Regions from separate parts of the Homo sapiens genome. Here regions 1, 3, 4, 5 and 6 are each linked to region 2. Evidence: promoter capture Hi-C in 16 types of primary human blood cells and fetal thymus (Javierre and others, 2016). All regions are on one chromosome and are shown on one strand. Each heading gives the region's core, a stretch centred on a gene start or on the middle of the fragment in contact. The rest is flanking DNA. Distances are from core to core; before and after follow the strand shown. Region 1 overlaps CT69 (cancer/testis associated transcript 69). Region 2 holds the start of SGK1 (serum/glucocorticoid regulated kinase 1). Region 3 has its middle 21 kb from the start of LINC03002. Region 4 has its middle 21 kb from the start of LINC03002. Region 5 overlaps LINC01010 (long intergenic non-protein coding RNA 1010). Region 6 overlaps CT69 (cancer/testis associated transcript 69).

Region 1 (3,321 bases), core at 527-3,026, 150 kb after region 2:
AAGTAATAACATTAAAATTCTCCAAGTGTTAGCAGTCTGCACTGTACCTTGAAATAAAAAGATAGAGATTTTGCCTTTGGTGTTCAATAAATATAGAATAATATAATATAATTTCAGAAGCTATAAGCTTATTATCAATCAGCTTCATAGAAACACAGGACTAAAATGGATTACTCATTACTAAGTCAACAGACAACTATGTGCCTGGCACTGATCTAGGGTTAGGGCCAGAGGAGTAAATAAAGCAAACAAAGCTTCCCCGGCACTTACATTCTGGTTGGGGAGGAAGAGTGTGCAGGAAATAAAGAACAGGCTAACATTTAATATTTCTAACATATCAAATGGCATGTTAGAAGATGATAAGAATAATGGAAAACAGTTTACTGCAACAGAGTTTTCAGAAGGGATTAGATTGCAATTCTAAATATGAATAACACAGCAAAAAGCAAAAAAAAAAAAAAAAGGATTTTTTTTGGCTGGTACACATGGGTATTAGTTTGTACTCTTGAAAGCTAATGGAATATCCATAGACCCTACTATACTAAATTTTAAACTCTAGGCACTGCAAAACGAGAATACTATCCACTTCTTCACACACATTTGTAGCCACCTTTACATTAGAGGCACCATCTGTAGTTATGACTGGTCTCTTTTTTCCCTGAGGTATGATCCTGTCTTCTTATCATTCCTGATATCTTCTTTCACAATTGTGCCCTAGGTAATGGTGCTCAGAAAAAGAAGCCAATCAGGAGATCTGTTTTCTGTGCCCTTTTAACACTTCTAACTCAGGCACCCAAACCAGCCTGTAGCAGAAAGAGCATCAAAGCCATCCTCTGGACTCTACACAAGGTCTGTGGATATTCAGTTAGCTTGCAAGAGTGCAAACTAATACCCATGAGTACCAGCCAAAAAATACCCTTTTTTTTTCTTTTTGCTGTGTTATTCACATTTAGAATTGTAATATGACCCTGTCAGAAAACTCTGTTGCAGGAAATTTTTGGAAAAGAACATGTAGCTTATCTGTGTCTATGAAGTCCTTGTTATTGTGGGGAAAAGAAAAGAAAACAAAAACATCGACAGCTATATATTTTCTTTTTATTACTTACTATCATTCCAGACTAAAGTGGGGAGCCCCCTTTTTTTTTTCCAGAAACATAGCAGCAGCAGAGATGTCGCTATTGTGATCAGAATTACTTTGGTAGGTGTGTTTTGGGTTTGATTTACTTTTTCACATTTGTCTTTCTGTTTATATAAAATATTTTCCTAGGGAAAAATACATGCTAAAGTTAAACTTCACATGAGTTAACTACCTACAAATTACAGCTGTTAGCCATTTTTAATAAAACACTATCCACTGCACTATAAAAACGGACTTCATTTTCATATTGTTAATGTTATTCCACTGAACAGTGCGGTTAGAAATCCCAGAAGCAAATGCAGTACAAATTGTAGAGCAGCTGTGTAGAGGTGACTTCTAATCATAATTGAACACAAACGAGAACAAATAAATCAAGGACGAAACTTCTCAACTTCTGATGCCTGGCAATGTCAGTTTTAAAGCCAGATACATACCAAGTGCCTTGCAAAAAAAAAAAATTACACAGCAGCTAGAAGAGTGACAGCAGAACCCCCACTCTTTCTGGGAACACTCCCATATACCAGAAGCACAAGGACTTTAATTTGAAACCTGATTACATATTTGAAATTGCTGGTGTTCCTGACTTTAGCTTCTTGGCAGAAATGCCAGCTGAGTGTGCACATAGCACAGGTGGTCGATGGCAAACAAGACACCTCACAGCTGCAGGCAAGGAGCTGCTTCTAAGGGCATACAGTCTGGACAGTGCCAAGGCAGATAGGCATCATACAAAGAGAGAGGACAGGCTGCAATTTGGGGGTTTTGTCATTATTGTGTGTGTTTTAAAATATATCAGTGCATTTTTGAAAGTTGATTGGGGTCAGATTTTCAGCTGAGGCCTTATTCTTAGGAAATAGCATGATGGCAATAAATGTCAGCCTTAGCTAGCGACCCTTAAAAAGCTAAACTGGAATAAAAATAATAACTTGGCAAAGGTTCCCATATGCCGCACTCCTTCTTTTGTGCTCTTCCTTTGTCCCGAGCCTGCTTTGCCACACATGCCACCTTCAAGCACTGTTTTTAGGGAGAAGAGACCATTCTCCCAGAAAAGGGAACAGCTGAGAAAAGAACCAGCCCACAGAGGGAGCAGGGACACTCCTAACTGTTTTAAAGCCGTGCCGCAGGGTCTATGAGTTCGCAACAAGAAAACGTTTTCTTGTTTCTACCTTACCTAAGTCCAAAAAAAAAAAAATCACTGTTTTTTTATTAGCCGTTTAGTCCTAAAGAGTGCCCTTAGTGATAAGACAGTGCTTCTGGAAGTTCCACATAACTGCTTTTCTTTACCCACATGCAGAAGGCCCAAGAGTTGCAGAATCAGAACAGTTTGTGTGCTTTTCCATGTTCTAGCTTATGTATATGACAATACTAATCTTCCATTAAACAGGGTGTCTTACCCAGTCTGCAGTGCTAAGCATGTGTCGGACTGGAAGATATTGTTCATAATAATCTTTTTCTAAGTACCATTTAAAAGAAAATGACTTCCATTATTTAAAAAAAAAAAACCAACTAGGAAATATCGTATTTCTTCACAATGAACCATAGCCCTTTTTCAGATGTCCTTTGGCATCTCAGTTTTAGGAGTTATACAAGTCTCTAGCCTCACTGTTCATTGCCCTGACTTGTGCCTGAGATGTTTTTAGTCCTTCAGCCAGTTCAAATCAGGAATGAGATGCATTTGATCTGGACTTCTTCTACTCTGCCAAGCAGATAATCCCCTAACGACTGGTCAGCATTTTCATCCCAGAGAGTCAAAACTGACCTTTCAGTAGCAGAGGTTGCTTTAGGTTTGTGCAAAATAACGTTAAGGACAAATTCCCACTTTTGGGGCGCCACCGCCGTCCCTTTCATTGCCTGCAGTTTCTAGCATTTATTTTCCAATGTGGACACTGCAAAACTGTGATTCTTCAAAGTGGTTATTTAGTTCCTAAAACATTTAGAGTTGGGGCAAAATTTGCATAATTCTATTAAAAGGCTTACACCTCAGCTTTGAAAAATATTTGAGAAAATGTGATTTATGGGGGAAGGAAGTCTTATCTTTTGGCCCAGAAGGTGTTTCATGGAACTAAACCTGTTAATGTTAGGATTGCCTGTTAAGCACCAAAAAGTAAAAAAATGGAGGTTAGAAGCCTTTCTTTTATCTTCGCTTCAAGTCTGCAGTAGTTTGAAGCTTAAGATAGAGAAGGATT
Region 2 (3,830 bases), core at 602-3,101:
CAGCCCACCCTGAAATTCACTGTGTTCTGCGGATGAGTTAACTGAAGGGCTGTGTTTCAGGAGTGGCACAGAAAGGACCTGAATGAAAGGAAGGAGGAATGAATGGAGAGAACCATTTTGGTGGAATTGCCCTAGGGTATTAAATAGGATGGGGCAACTGGGGACTGGAGGATGTTCCTTCTCTTACGTTGCTTAGGAAACACTGTCCTTAAGAGTGTCAGTGTCATTCCTTTAACAATCATTCATTTCTTACCTCCCGCTTGTGTATAAATTTGCAGATTTACACAGACCACCAGTGTGGCCATCCCAGTGAACTGAGTTTATTGTGAAATATACATGCAAAAAAATCCTTTTTTCTCACCTACAACCAATGCAACATTATTCATACTTTGAGTTGAAGAATAAGGAGTTTAAGAAATAAATGCATACAGCAACATAACCCTGAATTATCACTCAAATACAGACCTCCCACTGCTCTCTCCCAAAAAAAAAAAAAAAAAAAAAAAAAAAAAGGCAGTTATTCTAAGCAAAAGCAAAAATTGAGGCAACTTAAAATAGACAATTTTAAATGCTGGATTCCATCATTTCTGTAAAAGGTCATTCTACTCCTTTGCTATTTATACCACAGATAGAGACACAGCAAATTATTGGCTGAATGGATTTGGGAAACCAGAAGCTGCTGCTTCTGACGAACGAAGATGATAATGCATCACTTGAGACTGAGTGGATGAAAGGTGTAGAAAAGTTGAACCCTTCAAAGATGAGAGGAAGCTGCTAAATTAGCCCCTGACTAAATTACTAGCCATAATTGTACTCAAGCCAGTTCTCTTTGCGACTGCCTTGTAATCTTTGTTGTGGCTTGAGAGAGAAAAATCCCCATTCCCAGCTCAAACCCGTTTAAGGCATCTCAGCCCAACCCCCTCCTCCCAATGCAACTCTTCATAGCCCCCTGCCCCTCCTCCAACAAATTCTAATCAAGTCAGGTATAGTTCTCAGCTTTACCACTGCCATCAGAAGCACGGCTTACATTAAGGGTTTAGCAACAAAACCTCAGGCTTACTTCAGGCAAACATTCAAAAGCATTTAAGAGAAGCACAGAAAACAAAAGAAATAAGCAAAACCTGTCCTTACCCGCTTCTTAAAAAATTGGAAGGCTGAGCATTTCTTGACTGGGAATCCATTCATGTCTTTGTTTACCATTTTCCACCGTGGGGAATTCACAGTTATAGATCCAGGTTGGCACCCGCCTGGTTAGTGCATATCTGTTTCCCCGGTTTACCTCCTGCAGACAGTTAATGAAGACTGAGCGGGATGGAGAATCTAGCGGGGCTCAGTTCTTCACTCGCGCATTCTGCAGCACCAGCTACTGCAGCAACCTCTCCCCACTTTCAGTTGCCACCGACAGCGGCTTTTCTCCTTCCATCATTGCTCCGAAACATATGCATCACCGCTGCAGGACCCTGGGGGCCGGACGGTGGGATACGGCCAATCTCCGGGGAGATGCTGTGGCTCTTACCGAGCGGGAGAAGGGTACGCCTCCCCGCCCCCAGCTACCTGGCTGCTCTTCCGCGGCCGGCGCGGGGAGCGAGTCGCTCTTCTCCAGGTGATGCGCTCCTGGAGGCGGCTTGAGAGAGGAGAGTTGTTTTTGATTGTGCAAGTTCCAGTGGGAGCTGTAGTTAAGCAGCTGAGAGAAGGAGTAAGAAAGAGCAGAAGCCAGAGGGAGGGAGGGAGAACAGCGCCAGAAAGGCAGAGGGAGCGAGAAGGCGAGGCTGGAAGAAGCAACGGTTCATGAATATCTGAGCAGCGGATGGAGAGAAGGCACAGCCGGCTCAGGGCACACTGAAGAGCAGTTGACTCCCCTTGGGAGGGTTACTTTAAATAGCTTCTTTTCTTTCTTTCTTTTTTTTTTTTTTTGGTTAGGACCATTTAAATCAGAGTTTCATATAAATTGCACACCGTTTTTATTTTATGCTCATTGACATTCTTTTGAATCCTGTTGCTGAATAAAAGCCTCTCAACGGAAATGTAATCACATTTAATCTCGACCTGTCCAAACGTGGAAGAAAATGAAATAAAGTGCAAGCGTAGGTATAACAATGGAAGATCTCTCACTATGTAGAAGCTCTTTTAGCCTCCCCTCCCCTACTTGTCATTATATAGTGGGCAATGGTGACGGTAATTGTGTCTTTTTCATTAAAACAGCTTATTAAAAAAAGAACACAATGAACATATACAAAGTACTTTATTACACACATACACACACACACGAGTTATTACCAAAAAGTACTACTGAATCCATTTAATGATGAGGAAGGTTTGATAAATAAAAGAGTAAAGCATTCTTCCTATTAGGTGAAAAATTTCCCAAAAAATCCTTACTCATGTTATCCTTTGCACACTGAGCTCCTTTTAAAAAAGCCATTTAATTGTATGTGGCTTATTTTTCCATTTTTATTCTTTAATGTTGATATTTTATGGGAATGATTTTAAAGATTAGTTGATAGTAAAGCAAGAAAGCAAAGAAAATAAACTTGGCATCTGACCTGGCAGAAAGCCACCAACATCGGTGTGTGGCTTTCTGCCATCACCTGACCTCACTGTGCCTTTCGGACACTGCCTCATCCATAAAATGGAGGCAGCCACTCATTCATTCATTCACTCATTCATTTATTTAGTCATTCATTATTTGCTATTTCATTCCATTAATAAATCTAACTCTGACAAGTGTCCTCAGGATGTGGAGCCTTTTCATAATCATCACAAGGGAATATAATTGATAAATAAGTGAAAGGCGCAATGCTAATTTGAAACTGATTATGACCTCATTATATATAACACACCTAACATTGTTAAAGTATTTACATGGAAGTCTCTGGTAAGAAGAGAAACATCAGGTTAAACTGGGAAAGAAATGCATGGGTTTCATTGAATTGGACTATAAATCTCTACAGTTGGGCCAGAGTTTTTGGGAATAAACATGAAATCCTGTTTGCTAAATGCCTTGAGGTTTCCAAAAAGAAAATGCAATACAACTAAATGATGGCATGATAACCAAGGGAAAACAACTATTCATTTTGGAGAGATATGTTAAGTTGTCCAAGATGCAAGTATATGTTATGTAATCTACAACATTGATAAGTTTTTGTGGTTCTTCTAAAGAGTTCATTTAAAATTATGGTAGTTCAAAGGGAATTATTTTGAGACGATGGAAGTGTTCTCTATCATGATGATGGTGGTGGTTACATAACTATGCATTTGTCAGAACTCATCAAATTTTATATAGGAAAAGGGAAACTTTTGCTGCATGTAAATTATACCTCAATGGACCTCATTTTAAAAAATGATGGTCATTCAAGTTCTTTCTTTTTCGTCCCATTGCCACTCCCCCAAAAGTGTTTTAACAGACATTTATTGAATTTGAGTAATATACAGGAGGGGACCTTTAAGCACTCTGCTAGGAAGGAGGTGCTGGGGCTTTGCTTAATCCCACATTGGCCTAGCATGCATACTGGTTGATATCATTTGGCTGTGTCCCCACCCAAATCTCGTCTTGAATTGTAGTTCCCACAGTGAGTGATTTCTCATGAGATCTGATGGTTTTATAAGGGGCTTTTCTCCCTTTTGCTCAGCACTTCCCCTTCCTGATGCCATGTGAAGAAGAATGTGTTTGCTTCCCCTTCTGCTCTGATTGTAAGTTTCCTGAGGCCTCCCCAGCCATGCTGAACTGTGAGTCAATTAAACCTCTTTCCTGTATAAATTACCCATCTCACTATGTCTTTATTAGCAGTGTGAGAACGGACTAATACCCTGGTTTCATGTAGGATGTATGT
Region 3 (3,452 bases), core at 365-2,864, 200 kb after region 2:
TAAATATTTCAGTGTCTCACTCTGTAGAATCCGAGTTGTTGGCCAGGGGTGTGGCTTGAGGATCTATCCTAAGCCTGCCTTGAAGAAGTAAAGTGAGCTGCCTAAGGTCACGTTATTGGCAGAGCTGAGACAGAGAGCAAGCTCTTACAGTGTTGGGCATGGAGTGAGTCAGCCCTGCATTGAGAGAGGACGCAGCATCTGCCCTTGAGAACGGACTGGGAAATGGCTAAAAGAAGTCAAGGTCACATTCCGGACTCCTACCTACAATCATATTTGCACTGTCACCTGGATATGCTCACTGACTTCTGCCACCTGGGCAGCACCCAGTTCAGAACTTTGCAGATTGCTGGAATTGCTGGGGAGCTGCCAGAGGGCTTTCAGAACTCAGCATGAGTGCAGTGAGTGCGGCAGCCAGCTCCCAAAGGGGATGGCCTCAGCATAGTTTCCAGCTCTCGGCTCTCTTAACAGGAAGGCGTTGCGGTGTCGCAGACACAATCTGAAGTGGGGGTTCAAACAGACACAACTTCACATACTGGTTTTGCAACTTGCTGGCAAATGAGTGAATTTTACTCAATCCCAATTTTTCTCATCTGTAAAACAGCCATAAAATCGACCCCCACTGCCTCTTCCTCACCCCTCCCACAGACAAAGGATTTTTTTTCTCTTTTTTTCTATTCAGTCTTCACTGAACTAACATTTGCACGCCAAGCACCATTAAGTATTTTGCAAAGATTGTCTCATCTAATTCTTGTCAGTAAAGAAGTTTCATTTATGATCCTCATTTTATAGTGAAGAAACTAGGAATCAGTTGACTTAAAAATGACCTGCCTAAAGTCACACAGGTAAGAGGTGGAACCAATTTCCCACTGAAGAAGTGTGCCTGGGAGCCTGAGCTCGTAACCACCGCTTGTGACGATGACAATGCCTGGCAGTCGTCATCCTGTCTGGCCCATGGATGAAATTTAATAGAAGTTAATTCTGCATTTCCTCTTTTCTTAAAGAGCTATGAATTGGAGCTGAGGCCTGGCAGTCAGAAAACCAGGATTCTAGTGGGCTGGTAAATCACTTCTATTTCCTTGCAGCATAATGAAAGCATGGGATCAGATCACTCTCCTTAAGCGTTTCTTCTGGGCTGAATGAATTTGTACTCTCTACAGGTCTGAATGCTTGCTCTAAACAGAAAATAAGTTAGTTGTTCCCTAAAATTTTATGAAAAATTTATATTCGTTTCCATCATCTGAGTTTGTTTTGATATTTAAAACATAGATATTATGTCCTACCTAAACCTCTCTCCATGCACTCACTCACACTCACCTCATCCCATCTCGCAGTCTTGTGTGTTCCTTTACTCCAGGCACACCTAATTCATGGCTGCACATTCCCAAGGGCACCCTAGAAGGGGCACTCTCTTGGTTTGAAAAGCAGAGGTGTCAGTAGGTTTCATCAGGTCTCTGTACCTACACAATTCTATTACTCTGTTAACCTATGTGATGTGGAGGTTTATGACATAGAAGTTCTCCCCAGACTCGACCATGAACTTCCCAAACTCATCCAGAACTGAACCACCTTAAAACACGCTCTTTTGATATCTTGCCAACTTGGCAGATAAGACCGGATTTTCTACAAATTAAAAAGTGGTGATGGTGATGTGTTTGTTGGTGATGATGCTGATAAAATATGACCACTTCTTTATACGAGATGATTTCTTATAAAGGCAAATGAAAATTTTGTATCACAGTTGGAAACCACTGGACCATCAAGTACACTTGAAGGGCAAGAAAGATAAATTTACAGACAAAACTAAGGATTGTTTTTATATTATGTATTTCTCTGTCATCTGCCCACACCTGAAACCCAATTAACATTCAAGGGAGAATGAGTTTTGTTCAAGCCATTTAGAAGAGTAAAAGGAAAAGTAAATTTTAATAAGCCAGTATTTTTCTCTTGACACAAAGATTAGCAGAATTTGGGAATAATGTTTAAAATAAGTGTTATAGGCTGGGTGCGGTGGCTCATGCCTGTAATCCCAGCACTTTGGGAGGTCAAGGTGGGCGGATCACCTCAGGTCAGGAGTTCGAGACAAGCCTGGCCAACATGGTGAAACCCTGTCTCTAATAAAAACATAGAAAATTAGCCGGGCATTGTGGTGGGCACCTGTGATCTCAGTTACTCAGGAGGCTGAGGCAGGAGAATTACTTGAACCTGGGAGGTGGAGGTTGCAGTGAGCCAAGATCACGCCATTGCACTCCAACCTGGGCAACAAGAGTGAAACTCCATCTCAAAATAATAATAATAAGAAGTTGTTATAATATATGGAATGTATATTGCAGCATTATATTTTAAAAACAAACCATTACAAAAACACTGTTAATTTTGGAAGGCACATTAGCCAGTAGGGTTGAAAGATTTAATGTTCCAGTAATAGGAGTTTGGAATTCCAAAACACAGAGAAATTGTCACTTTTATTGTTTTGCTTAGTCTGGTTTTATTTCAGGAAGTTAGGAGACACTGGGCCCGACAGCGCAGATGACAAGCCGTGATGCAAATGCTTCCTATCTATGAGACAGGAAATGCTCTCAGACCCTGCACGTAACTCCCTGCAAAGTTTGCTCTTTGTTTTTGGTACATCCATTTGCTTCTTTGTGCTTAATTCTATGTATTGTGTACAGATGAGACAAAGAGAAAGCTGCAGTTATAGGACAGTATATGCCTTCTAAAGAAATTGCTCTTACATTATCAAGGAACAAATGAAGAGGTTTACTGATTTATGAGGAGACATTTGGTATAAACTGAAGGACTTGCTACAGTAGCCATATAAAGGACCTCATAATGAAATTTTTCAGGTCACACACACACATACGCACGCATGTACGTATATGCACATATACAATTGTTTTTCAAGTGGTTTCAGATTTTTCAAATGCAGTCACTAAAGATCAATTCTAGCAATGAATACATTTTGAATTTGTACCCTCTGAGCTCTTACCATTTTGGTCATGCAGACCTTGAGAATTAAGAACCCAGAATATTTTTCTTCATAATTTTGACACTGATTCATCCTATTTTTTTTTTTTTTTTCAGGGAGGAAGGGGGTCACAGGGTCTCGCTCTGTCACCCAGGCTAGTGTGCAGTGATGTGCGATCATAGCTTGCTGTAACCTCAAACTCCTGGGCTCAAGTGACCCTCCCGCCTCAGCCTCTTGAGTAGCTGGGACCACAGGAACGGGCCACCACACCTGGCTAATTTTTTAAAATTTTTTGTAGAGACGGGGTCTCACTATGTTCCCCAGATTTGTCTTGAATTCCTGGTCTTAAGCAGTCCCCCTGCCTCGGCCTCCCAAAGTGCTAGGATTACAGCCAGGAACCACTGCACTGAACCATGATTCATCCTGTCTTTGAATCTGCCCACCTGGAAGTGTTGTGTAAATTTTTCCGTAAAGACTGGACTTGGCT
Region 4 (3,352 bases), core at 82-2,581, 240 kb after region 2:
GTTTAAAGTGTACAGATACAGATAAGCAAGGGACTGTAGCTGGCCAGCTATGGATCATTAACAGCCCAGTGGGAAGCATTGCTCGTACAATCTCTCCAGAGTTTGGCAGGACCCATTCCATGCTATGGTGCCTCACTTTTAAGTAACGTAATAATCTCTAGCATACTTTTATTTATTTTTTTTATTTCCGTAGTTTTTTGGGGGAACAAGTGGCATCAGGTTACATGAGTAAGTTCTTTAGTGGTGATCTGCGAGATTTGGGTGCACCCATCACCTTAGCAGTATAAACTGAACCCAATTTGTAGTCTTTTATCCCTCACCCACTTCCCATCCTTTCCCCGAGTCCCCAAAGTCCACTGTATCATTCTTATGCCTTTGCATCCTCATAGGATGCTCCCACTTATGAGTGAAAACATGTGATGTTTGGTTTTCCTTTTCTGAGTTACTTCACTTACAATAATGGTCTCCAATCCCATCCAAGTTGCCGCAAATGTTAATTTATTTGCTTTTATGGCTGAGTAGAATTTCATCATATATATATATATATATATATATATATATATATGATGTACACCTATATATATATATATATATATATATATATATATATATATATCACGGTTTCATTATCCACTTGTTTATTGATGGGCATTTGGGCTGGTTCCACATATTTGCAGTTGCGAATTGTGCTGCTATAAACATGTGTGTGCTAGTATCTTTTTTGTATAATGACTTCTTTTCCTCTGGGTAGATACCCAGAAGTGGGATTGCTGGATCAAATGGTAGTTCTAGAATGCTTATTGAGAAGAGAAGAATTTCATGTAATTGGTCCCAATTCTTAAACTAAAGCTCATTGTTAGACTAAACTCTTTTACTCTTCTACCTACACATAAACCTATTTGGCTTTTTGGCATAACTGTAGGAAATGGCAAGCTACTGGCAGAATACTGTTCTTTGACCCCACACAGAAAATCTTTGGAACTGCCATTGATTAAATCCTGTGTCTCATGTTTTTTGTTGTAGTTGTTGTTGCTGGATTCATACTATTCAGTGCAGTGCACAGTGATAAACCAGCAGAAATATCTAAGGTACCTTATATGATATTATTGAGGACAAAAATTAATACTCTCCCTAGTATTTTCATAACAGCCACATTTTGTCTTTTCCTGTGTAAGAAGTGTGCCAGCATACCATTTCTAATCAGAAACCAAGCCCAGAGGCCTAGGATTATGGGAACAAACCCATTTGCTTTATGAGGTTTGCCAAACCTTGTACTTGTTACAATGACAAACCTGCTACTATGGAGAGAAGAGCAGTTGATAGCTTTTAACTCTATGAGTCTTTTTTGCCTGGTGGATCCAGACATCTCATAGTCTGTAGAATACCTTAATGCTCTCAGACAGGATGAAGTGACATTAATTTCTTTATATGACAGGTAAACTGAGGCATTTCTTGGATTGTGAAAGTTCTGAAAATTGTAGTCCACTTTAAATAACAACAGCTAGATGTTTTGTACTAAATAATGCATGAAAGAACTGCTATTGTATTTGCAGCTAAACAGGTTTGGACCTATTTGGAGATCGTCTGGGCAATGAACTGAGCCTACTTGCCCTTTACAGATTCCTCCTCTACAAAAATAGCCAGCTGCAAAGTGTTGTGGTCTTGTCTACATTCAGGCCCATATCAGCAAAAGCACCTACAAGAAAATAAGACAGCAAAAATAACTGGTGAAAAAAAAAGATATGTGATCTTTGGGGGTATCAGACATGTTTACTTGCGGTTTCTTTTCTTTAATCCAATAAAAGTATTGGCATAGTGTTTGGTATTTGAGGCATAGTAGTGGGAGTACTGTCACGATGTAACTAAAGATGGTGGGAAAACCAGTTTGAATAAAATGAGATCCAACTTGAACCTTTGCCCGTTCCTGGAACTAAAGTCAAGTCAACCCACTGTTAAGTGTCAAAAACGTTGAGTCACTAGCCTCCTTTTTGTTCATCTGTTTCTGAATATGTGTATATGCCTGCTTTTTTTTTTTGTACTCTTAAAAAATAGACTTGCTTGTGGCATTCGGTATGCAATTCTCAGCTTACTACATCCTCATGAAATTTATTTTCATTTATTTATTTATTTTTATTTCAATAGTTTTGGGGGTATAGGTGGTTTTTGGTTACATGGATAAGTTCTGTAGCAGTGCTTTCTGAGATTTTGGTGCACCTGACACCTGAGCAATGTAAACTATACCCAATATGTAGTCTTTTATCCCTCACTCCATTCCTACCCAGACCCCCAAAGTCCATTATATCATTCTTATGCTTTCACGTTCTCATAGCTTAGCTCCCACTTATAAGTGAGAACATACGATATTTGGTTTTCTGTTCCTGAGTACTTCACTTAGAATAATGGCCTCCAGCTCCATCCGAGTTGCTGCAAAGACCATTATTTCATTCCTTTTTATGGCTGAATAGTACTCCATGGGTCCTCATGAAATTTAAATTTAAAGGGATAAATATGAAATGAAAGTTCTCAAAACATATTTATAAATTTTGATGTTTTCATTTGATTTCTGCTACACTTCTTAGGATCTGTCTTTTGTATGGGTTTTGGAAACTGCTGTGAAATCTGCTTCATTAGGTTTCATTTCAGAGAACATTAGAAAGTGAAACATACTTTTAAGTACCAGTCCCAAATCCATTAGTCTTTAATCTTTGAGTAACTAATTATTCATTCCTGTAAGATAAAGCCTAGGCTTTCAGCTCATCTCATTTTGTCTCTCTCCTCACTTACTTTACATGAGAGCACTGCTTTTCCAGCTTTTTTAGTTCCTTTGAACCACTTTGAAGAGTTAAATTACTTCCGAGACCATCTATTCTGGTCTCAGATAATCACTGCTATAAAAACTTACTAGATTTAGTAGAGGGAACTGAACTGTGCCAGAGAGAAACTTAAGAAGAAAATAGCTAATTCATGTCAAAAATAGAATTGTAGTTATTGACATATTATATCTGTTAATATACCACGTAGCCTGTCCATTGATCACACTGATGAAGCCCTTCTGAAAGCATACTGCCCATTAGAAGGATGAATACGTCTTCAAAAAAGGGAAGGTATAAAGCATTTAGGACATCAGAGGAGCTCACTCCATTTTTTAGAAATAGGACCATATATTGTGTATTTTTTTAAGCAAATTAGGATACATTGAAATACTCCTCCCCTTACACACACACACACACACACACACACACACACACACACACTTTTTCAATATTCTTTTGGTCAAAATAACTGCAATGATTGTTTGTGAAACCTTCCCCAACTGCCCTAGGCAGAATTTGTAGTTCCCTCCACTGTGCTT
Region 5 (3,415 bases), core at 911-3,410, 170 kb after region 2:
TGATTCTATATCTTTGCTGTTGTGAATAGTGCTGCAGTGAACATACATGTGCATGTGTCTTTAGAACAGAATAATTTATATTCCTTTGGATACATACCCAGTAATGAGACTGCTGGGTCAAATGGCATTTCTGGTTCTAAATCTTTGAAGAATCACCACACTGCCTTCCACAATGGTTGAACTAATTTACATTCCCACCAACAGTGTAAAAGTGTTCCTATTTCTCTGGAACATCACCAGCATCTGTTGTTTCTTGACTTTTTAATAATCACCATTCTGACTGGCACAAGTTGGTATCTCATTGTGGTTTTGATTTGCATTTCTCTAATGATCAGTGACGTTGGGCTATTTTTCACAGATTTCTTGGCCACATGTATGTCTTTTTTTGAGAAGTGTCTGTTCATATCTTTCACGTATTTTTTAATGGGGTTGTTTGTTTTCTTCTAAGTTTGCTTAAGCTCCTTGTAGATTCTGGATATTAGGCCTTTGTCAGGTGGATTAAGAGTTAGTTTTCCTCTTCCTTTTCAGTTCTTACACTACCGATTTTCTTCTGTTATCTAATGGCGAGAGTTAACACCTCCAATGAAACATTAAATACCAGTGGTATAGTGGGCATCCTTGTGTTGTTCTGGGATTTCTATTTATATATCTTTTTCATGTTAGCAAAATACTTTTCAAGTTCTATTTTATTGAATTTTAAAAATCAAGAATGGGCATTCTGTTGTATCAAATATCTTTTTAGTATTTGCAGAGATGATTTGTGAATTTTCTCTTTAAATCTCCTTAAATTTGACAAATTGTATCAATTGACTTCATGATGCCAAGTATTCTTAGATTTACAGAGTAAACCCCACTTGATTATGGTATATTATTTTTATTATTATTATTATTTGAGACTGGGTCTTGCTCTCTGTTGCCCAGACTAGAGTGTAGTGGCATGATCATAGCTCACTGCAGCCTTTATCTCAAGCTAGCTTCCTGCCTCAGCCTCCCAAGTAGCTAGGACTACAGGTGCATGCAATCATGCCTGGCTAATTTTTTTTTTTTTTTTTTTTTTAGAGATGGAGTTTTGTTACATTGCCCAGGCTGATCTCAATCTCCTGGCCTCAAGCAATCCTCCTGCCTTGGCCTCCCAGTGTGCTGGGGTTACAGGCATGACCCATTGCACTTGGCCAGTGTATTATTTTTATAAATGTGTTATTTGATTCTGACTGTCATCATATTTGAGATTCTTCTGTAGTTTTCTTTTTTATGTAAATTTTAAATCATATTTTGTTATTAATATTATACTTGCTTCATACAAAGAATTTTGCTCTGGTCAATCTCAATAGCATTTAAATTGCATGCTCTTTAAAGATTTGATAAGATTCTCCTTGGAAACCTGACGTGGTTCTACACATTTTACGTTCTAGCCAGTAAAGGAATCAGTGAGGCTGTTATTTGACCTAAAATTTTGATTTTTGCCAAAGCCTATCTTGCAGAAACAGGTATCATCAGAGTCACATACTGAAAGCCAAAATTAAAGAACAAATCTAGAAAGTGGCAAGCAATAAAATGACACATATATATAAGAGAACAGTAATTCAGTTAATAGCTGATCTTATGAGAAACCACAGAGGCCAGCAGGGTAGAACAACATCTTCAAAGTGCTTCAAGAAAAAGAAAGCTGTCAACTGGGAATTCTATACCCTTCAGAAATGAAGGAGAAAGAAAAACATTCTCAGATGAAAGAAAACTAAGACGATTTGATGCAAGCAGGCCAACACTATGAGAAATGCTAAAGGTAGTTCTTGAGGTTGAAGAGAAATAAAAAGAGATGGAAACTCAGAACCATGAATAAGAGTGAAGAGCACTAGAACTAATAACCATCTGGGTGAACAGAAAATGCTTTTTTTTTTTCTCTTTTTTTTTTTTTTTTTGAAACGGAGTTTTGTTGCCCAGGCTGGAGTGCAATGGCACAATCTTGGCTCGCCACAACCTCTCTGCCTCCCAGGCTCAAGCAATTCTCCTGCCTCAGCCTCCTGAGTAACTGGGATTACAGACATGAGGCACCATGCCTGGCTAATTTTGTATTTTTAGTAGAGACAGGGTTTCTCCATGTTGGTCAGGCTGGTCTTGGACTCCCAACCTCAGGTGATCCTCCTGCCTTGGCGTCCCAAAGTGCTGGGATTACAGGCATGAGCCACCGTGTCTGGCTAGAAAATGCTTTTTTTTTTTTGCTTTTTTATCTTAATTTTGTATAGTCAATATAACTGTTTAAAGCAATCTATATCATTATCTTGTGGGGTTTCTAAGATATCCAGATGTGATACATGTAACAACTAAGGATAAAGGATTAGGGGGAAGTCAATATGGATCTTACGGAGTTGTAAGTCTTCTACATTTTGTATGAAACCATAATGCATAAATGTAAGTGGACTGTAAGAAGTCCAATTCCTAAAGCAATCACCTACATAAATAATGCCAAGAAGTATAGCTAAAAAGCTAATAGGAAGAATAAACTTTAATTCCAAGTATCTAAAAAAATAGGTAACAGGAACAAAGAAACACAATATAGAAGGAACAAATACAAAATAATAAAATCGTAGGCCCAATCATAAATATATCAATAAATACATGAATGCATTTAATCTAAACACTCCAATGTAATCTAAACACTCCATTTAGAATATAGCGATAGTATGGATAAAAAGCAAGACCAAAATATATGCCATTTATAAGAGTTGCACTTTAAATATATAGAGAAAAATAGATGGAAAGTATATGGGTGGAAAAAGACTTACCATGAAAACAGAAGGTGTAAGAAGACTGGTGTAGCTATATTAAAATAAGATATAAACAAAATTTTAAAGATAAAAGTATCACCAGAGATAAAGAGGGACATTCTATAATAATAAATTTGGCAATCCACTAGAAATACATAACAGTAATAAATGTTTATGTGCCTAATAACAGAACTTAAAAATACTGGAAACAAAAATTGCCATTTCTAAGTTATAATTAGAGATTTTAATGCCATTCTCCCAAAGATAAAAGAACAGCTAGACAAATTAAATCAGAAACACATAGCTCTTTACAAAATTATCAGCCATCTTGATCTACTCGATATTTATAGAATCCTACACCCAACATTTGAAAGAATACAAAAGATGCATTTTTTTCAAAAGCAATGTGGTATATTTGCCAAGATGGATAATATATTCAGCCATAAAACAAGTTTCAGTGAAGGATTCTAAAATAATGAAATCATACTTAGTATGCTCTTTGATCATGATGGGTTTAAATTTGAAACAAATAGAAACAAGATATCTAGGAAAACCCCAAACATTTGGAAATTAAACAACATCTCCTAAGTAACTAATGAGTTAAAGAAAAAAATTGCAAGAAGAAGTTAGGAAATATTTTGAACTGAGTG
Region 6 (3,650 bases), core at 807-3,306, 130 kb after region 2:
AGGCCTCCTTCAAACACATACACACCCGTTTTTCCACATGTGAGTAATTACTAAACTCTCTTTGGCCCTCACCAAGACAACCAGCAGGACTCAGGAGTTTAATGAATTGTTCTCACTTCCACGGAGCAGTAAAATTGAGTTTTTATTTATTAGAAACTTAAAATGGTTTTTAACTCTGTGGGAGTAATTTAGAAATTGGTGTGAAGTGTAATTGATTTTTATAAACATGCATATTGTAGATTTTTCATTAATAAGCATTTGCATTGTAATTTGTTTGTGCATGAGTGCCCTGGACTTTCCAGATGCTAATGAACAAAGTGCTGGAGTGTGCTTTCTACAAAGCGAAATTCATTATTTTCATTTTTATTTTTAACTCTTTTCTCAAAGTGAGAACAAGAGAAAGCTATTGGAAAGATAATTTCTAGAAAGAAAGGTGAACTCAGCTCTTTTTGATAATTATGTTTTCCCCCTCAATCTTGTTTAACAAAAGCTGAAGAACTTGTCTGTCACACTCCTGATACTTTCTCTAATTAGTCCTGGCTTCATATATATGTGTATATACACACATATGAAATACTCTTTCATGTATATATGAAAAGACTATTTAGAATGATTATTTATACTGCATATAATTAAGTAGGGCTGTGTCCTGGTCTATAATCACTAGAGACACCCTTCTGAGAAAATACTCCTGACTTAACCACACAATTTATTCTACATTGTAGTGCCTTCAGGGATACACCCTTCTGGAGTACATTAGTTTTCTCAGACAGACCAGAAATGATTACCAAGGGAGGAACCTCTTCCAATAAGCCCTCTTTTCATTTCTTTGATATGTGTGCATCGATCCCTAAGTCCTCATCTGGACTGCTACCTTAATTTGCAGAGCCCAAGTGAAAACACACACACAAAAAACCCTCAAAGTCCCTTCAAAAAGCAGGGGTGGTGGTGGGGGGGAGGTGTGGAAGATTTCCTTTCTTTCTCTTTTGGCCTGTCATGGGGTCTCTTACTTGCTATTTAATTTCATGCTCTCTTTGATACAGGGGTATTCACAGGGTGAGTGCAGATGGTCTCAGGTAGCTCAGGCCTGCCCAGCCACTTGGTGCATGGGGTGTGTGCACCCAGCTTCCACGCCCCCTGCAGGCCCAGGCCCCTGCCTGCCCAAATGGCTGTAGTCACTGGAAGGGGGTTGGGGAGCAGAGAGTGGAGGGGTGGGAGATAATGAGAGTGGATGAGGAAGCTCCTCACCCCCTGTTCCATTGTCCTTCTGGACTTCACTTACAAAACACAAACTCCAAGATTAAATTGTTATGCATTTTAAGGGGATTCACCCATGAAAGATGGGCAACTCTCCTGTTATAAAAGAAGTCCACAGAAGGCTCCATAACTTCTGTGCCAGGTCAATAGTGCTCTGATTTCCTTTCTTTCTGCCCCCAGTGATTATCCAGGGACTACAGATGGGGTCAGCAGCATGCCCAGTCACCTGCATTGCCTAATGAATGGCTGACTGCCTCAGCATCCCCTGGGCAGAGGTGAGGAGGACTTGTTTACAGCCTGATATGGTTAGACTTTGTGTCCCCACCCAAATCTCATCTTGAATTGTAATCCCCACGTGTTGAGGGAAGGAAGTGATTGGATTATGGGGGTAGTATCCCCCATGCTGTTCTCATGATAGTGAGTGAATTCTCACGAGATCTGGTGGTTTTATAAATGATAGTTTTTCCTGCACTCTCACATGCTCTCTGTTGCCTACCACCATGTAAGACAGGCTTGTTTCCCCTTCTGCCATGATTGTCAGTTTCCTGAGGCCTTCCCAGCTACGCAGAATTGTGGGTCAATTAAACTTTTTTCCTTTATAAGTTACCCAGTCTCTGGCAGTTCTCTATAGCAGTGTGAAAACAGACTAATACACAGCTTAATTCTGGATTTATCTTAGCCTTCACTCCTCAAGCAGTCCAGGCATGGTGGCTCACGCCTGTAATCCCAGCACTTTGGGATTGATCCCTTGAGGCCAGGAGTTTGAGAACAACCTAGTGAGACTTCATCTCTACTGAAATCAAAAATTTAAAAAAATTAATAAAATGTGAAGCTCCCACTCCATAGTTTAATGACACATGCACTATTATGTGGTTTTACTTTTCTCATGGAAAAGCTATACATTACAGAAAATGCAAAACATCGAGAACAGAAGAAAACAAATCACCAGAATTGCCATCTTACTGTCCAGAAATAATTACTTAGCATTTTAGCATATGTAGTTTGGTCTTTTTACATATACGGCTATGGTGCATATGTTATTGAGATATTGTAAATATTGCTTTAAAACACACTTTCATTCACTCAATAATACACCATGAATATCTTCCATATATTATTATTAATCTAAAACATTATTTGAAAACTTTTGGGTGCATACCACTCACCTGGGAGCATGTGGGAAATAAAGATTCTGAAGTCTCTCACTCGCAGAGATCCTCATTCATAACCGCAGATGATGACTCATAAATCTGATATCTGCCTTTTGAAGAAGCACCCCAGAAGATTCTGATGGAGGTGATTCTCAGAGCTTGCTCTGACATACACTGATCTACAATATGCTTTTAAAATGCTGCACTGTGTTCCATCATATAGGTGTGCCATAATTTATTAAACCAGTTTCATATTGTTCATTTGACATTAGTTTCTAAATTTTCACGTGCATGATTAATTCTTCATATAAATCTTTCTGAACATCTCTAATTATTTCCTTAGGAAAATTCTGCAAAGTGGAATTACTGGGTCAAAGGGAATGTAAACCTGAGCAAAGTAGATGGTAGTGTGAATGAAAAAGCAAATCAGTAAGCTGTAAAACACTACACTAATATGATAGAACAGCTGCCATTTATTGAGGGACTTTTGTAAACCCGGCCAGGGGTTCTTAAATTTTCTTGTGAATCAGAATCACCTGGATGGCTTGTTAAAACCAGGTTGCTGCTACCTTCTCTCCATCCCAGTTTAATTCATTAGGTCTGTGATGGGACTGGGAATTTGCAATTCTAAGAAGTTTCCAGGTGATGCAGATACTGGTCCTAGGCCAGGCCACACTTTGGACACCACTAGACACTATTCTAGGTGTCTTATTAAACTTCACAGCAGTCTTTACAGTTGATGATTGAGATGCAGAGAGGGTCTAAGGTTATGAAGCTAATGCTGGCAGAGCTGGGATTTGATTCAAAATTTGATGATTCAAAAGCTGATGGTTTTCCCACCAGGCAACCTGGTTTCTTCATTTTACTGCCCTCAAATAAAATATTTTAGATGTGTTCCTAACAAGCACTGAAGGTTTCAGTGTCAGCGCCACCCCTCCCCCACTCCAATCTATTAGGGATACATAAGGGAGGAGAGAGGTTAGGAATTGTTTGGCTGAGAAATTCCTCAGGGGAAACTGGTTGGATGAGTTACACTCCACCATTCACATCAATATGAAGGGTTGCCTCCCTGTCCTGCTGTGGCCTCAATGACATGTGGACATCAAGAGAATAATTTCTCATCTCTTACTGCAACCACATAATAATCCTTCCTTGGAAGAGAGATCTGTCTTCTCTAAAAACCACCTCCAACCTTCTCCACACAATGGCTTAAATAACCTGTTTGTTCAGGCAGCTCAGAAA

What was found. Contacts are between HindIII fragments. The CHiCAGO score rates a contact against its expected background, and 5 or more counts as called.
Region 1: a contact is called between a fragment that was not itself captured here and the fragment with the promoter of SGK1 in region 2, in 2 of 17 cell types (activated CD4 T cells and neutrophils). The highest score is 5.5, in activated CD4 T cells.
Region 3: a contact is called between a fragment that was not itself captured here and the fragment with the promoter of SGK1 in region 2, in 1 of 17 cell types (neutrophils). The highest score is 9.1, in neutrophils.
Region 4: a fragment that was not itself captured here is called in contact with the fragment with the promoter of SGK1 in region 2 in 1 of 17 cell types (neutrophils); the score reaches 8.4 in neutrophils.
Region 5: a fragment that was not itself captured here is called in contact with the fragment with the promoter of SGK1 in region 2 in 1 of 17 cell types (neutrophils); the score reaches 10.1 in neutrophils.
Region 6: a contact is called between a fragment that was not itself captured here and the fragment with the promoter of SGK1 in region 2, in 1 of 17 cell types (neutrophils). The highest score is 5.8, in neutrophils.

The regions. Positions count from the first base shown.
Region 1 is chr6:134,467,096-134,470,416 of GRCh38, forward strand. All of the region lies in intron 2 of CT69 (cancer/testis associated transcript 69), which reads right to left. All of the region lies in intron 2 of LINC01010 (long intergenic non-protein coding RNA 1010), which reads left to right. Among named protein-coding and RNA genes, the nearest start is that of CT69, 10 kb to the right of the region's middle. The HindIII fragment of the contact is 3,048 bases long and covers 253-3,300 here.
Region 2 is chr6:134,316,261-134,320,090 of GRCh38, forward strand. SGK1 (serum/glucocorticoid regulated kinase 1) reads right to left here and starts at 1,852. Exons shown (of 14, transcript NM_001143676.3): 1 at 1,132-1,852. The coding sequence starts at 1,200. RefSeq lists an enhancer at 1,400-1,679. The HindIII fragment of the contact is 10,717 bases long and covers 1-3,830 here.
Region 3 is chr6:134,517,101-134,520,552 of GRCh38, forward strand. No RefSeq gene overlaps it. Among named protein-coding and RNA genes, the nearest start is that of LINC03002, 21 kb to the right of the region's middle. The HindIII fragment of the contact is 8,422 bases long and covers 1-3,452 here.
Region 4 is chr6:134,559,247-134,562,598 of GRCh38, forward strand. No RefSeq gene overlaps it. Among named protein-coding and RNA genes, the nearest start is that of LINC03002, 21 kb to the left of the region's middle. The HindIII fragment of the contact is 4,904 bases long and covers 1-3,352 here.
Region 5 is chr6:134,486,576-134,489,990 of GRCh38, forward strand. The region is part of intron 2 of LINC01010 (long intergenic non-protein coding RNA 1010); the gene reads left to right. Among named protein-coding and RNA genes, the nearest start is that of CT69, 9.4 kb to the left of the region's middle. RefSeq lists a silencer at 1,053-1,264. The HindIII fragment of the contact is 5,752 bases long and covers 1-3,415 here.
Region 6 is chr6:134,450,598-134,454,247 of GRCh38, forward strand. All of the region lies in intron 3 of CT69 (cancer/testis associated transcript 69), which reads right to left. All of the region lies in intron 1 of LINC01010 (long intergenic non-protein coding RNA 1010), which reads left to right. Among named protein-coding and RNA genes, the nearest start is that of LINC01010, 15 kb to the left of the region's middle. The HindIII fragment of the contact is 7,211 bases long and covers 1-3,650 here.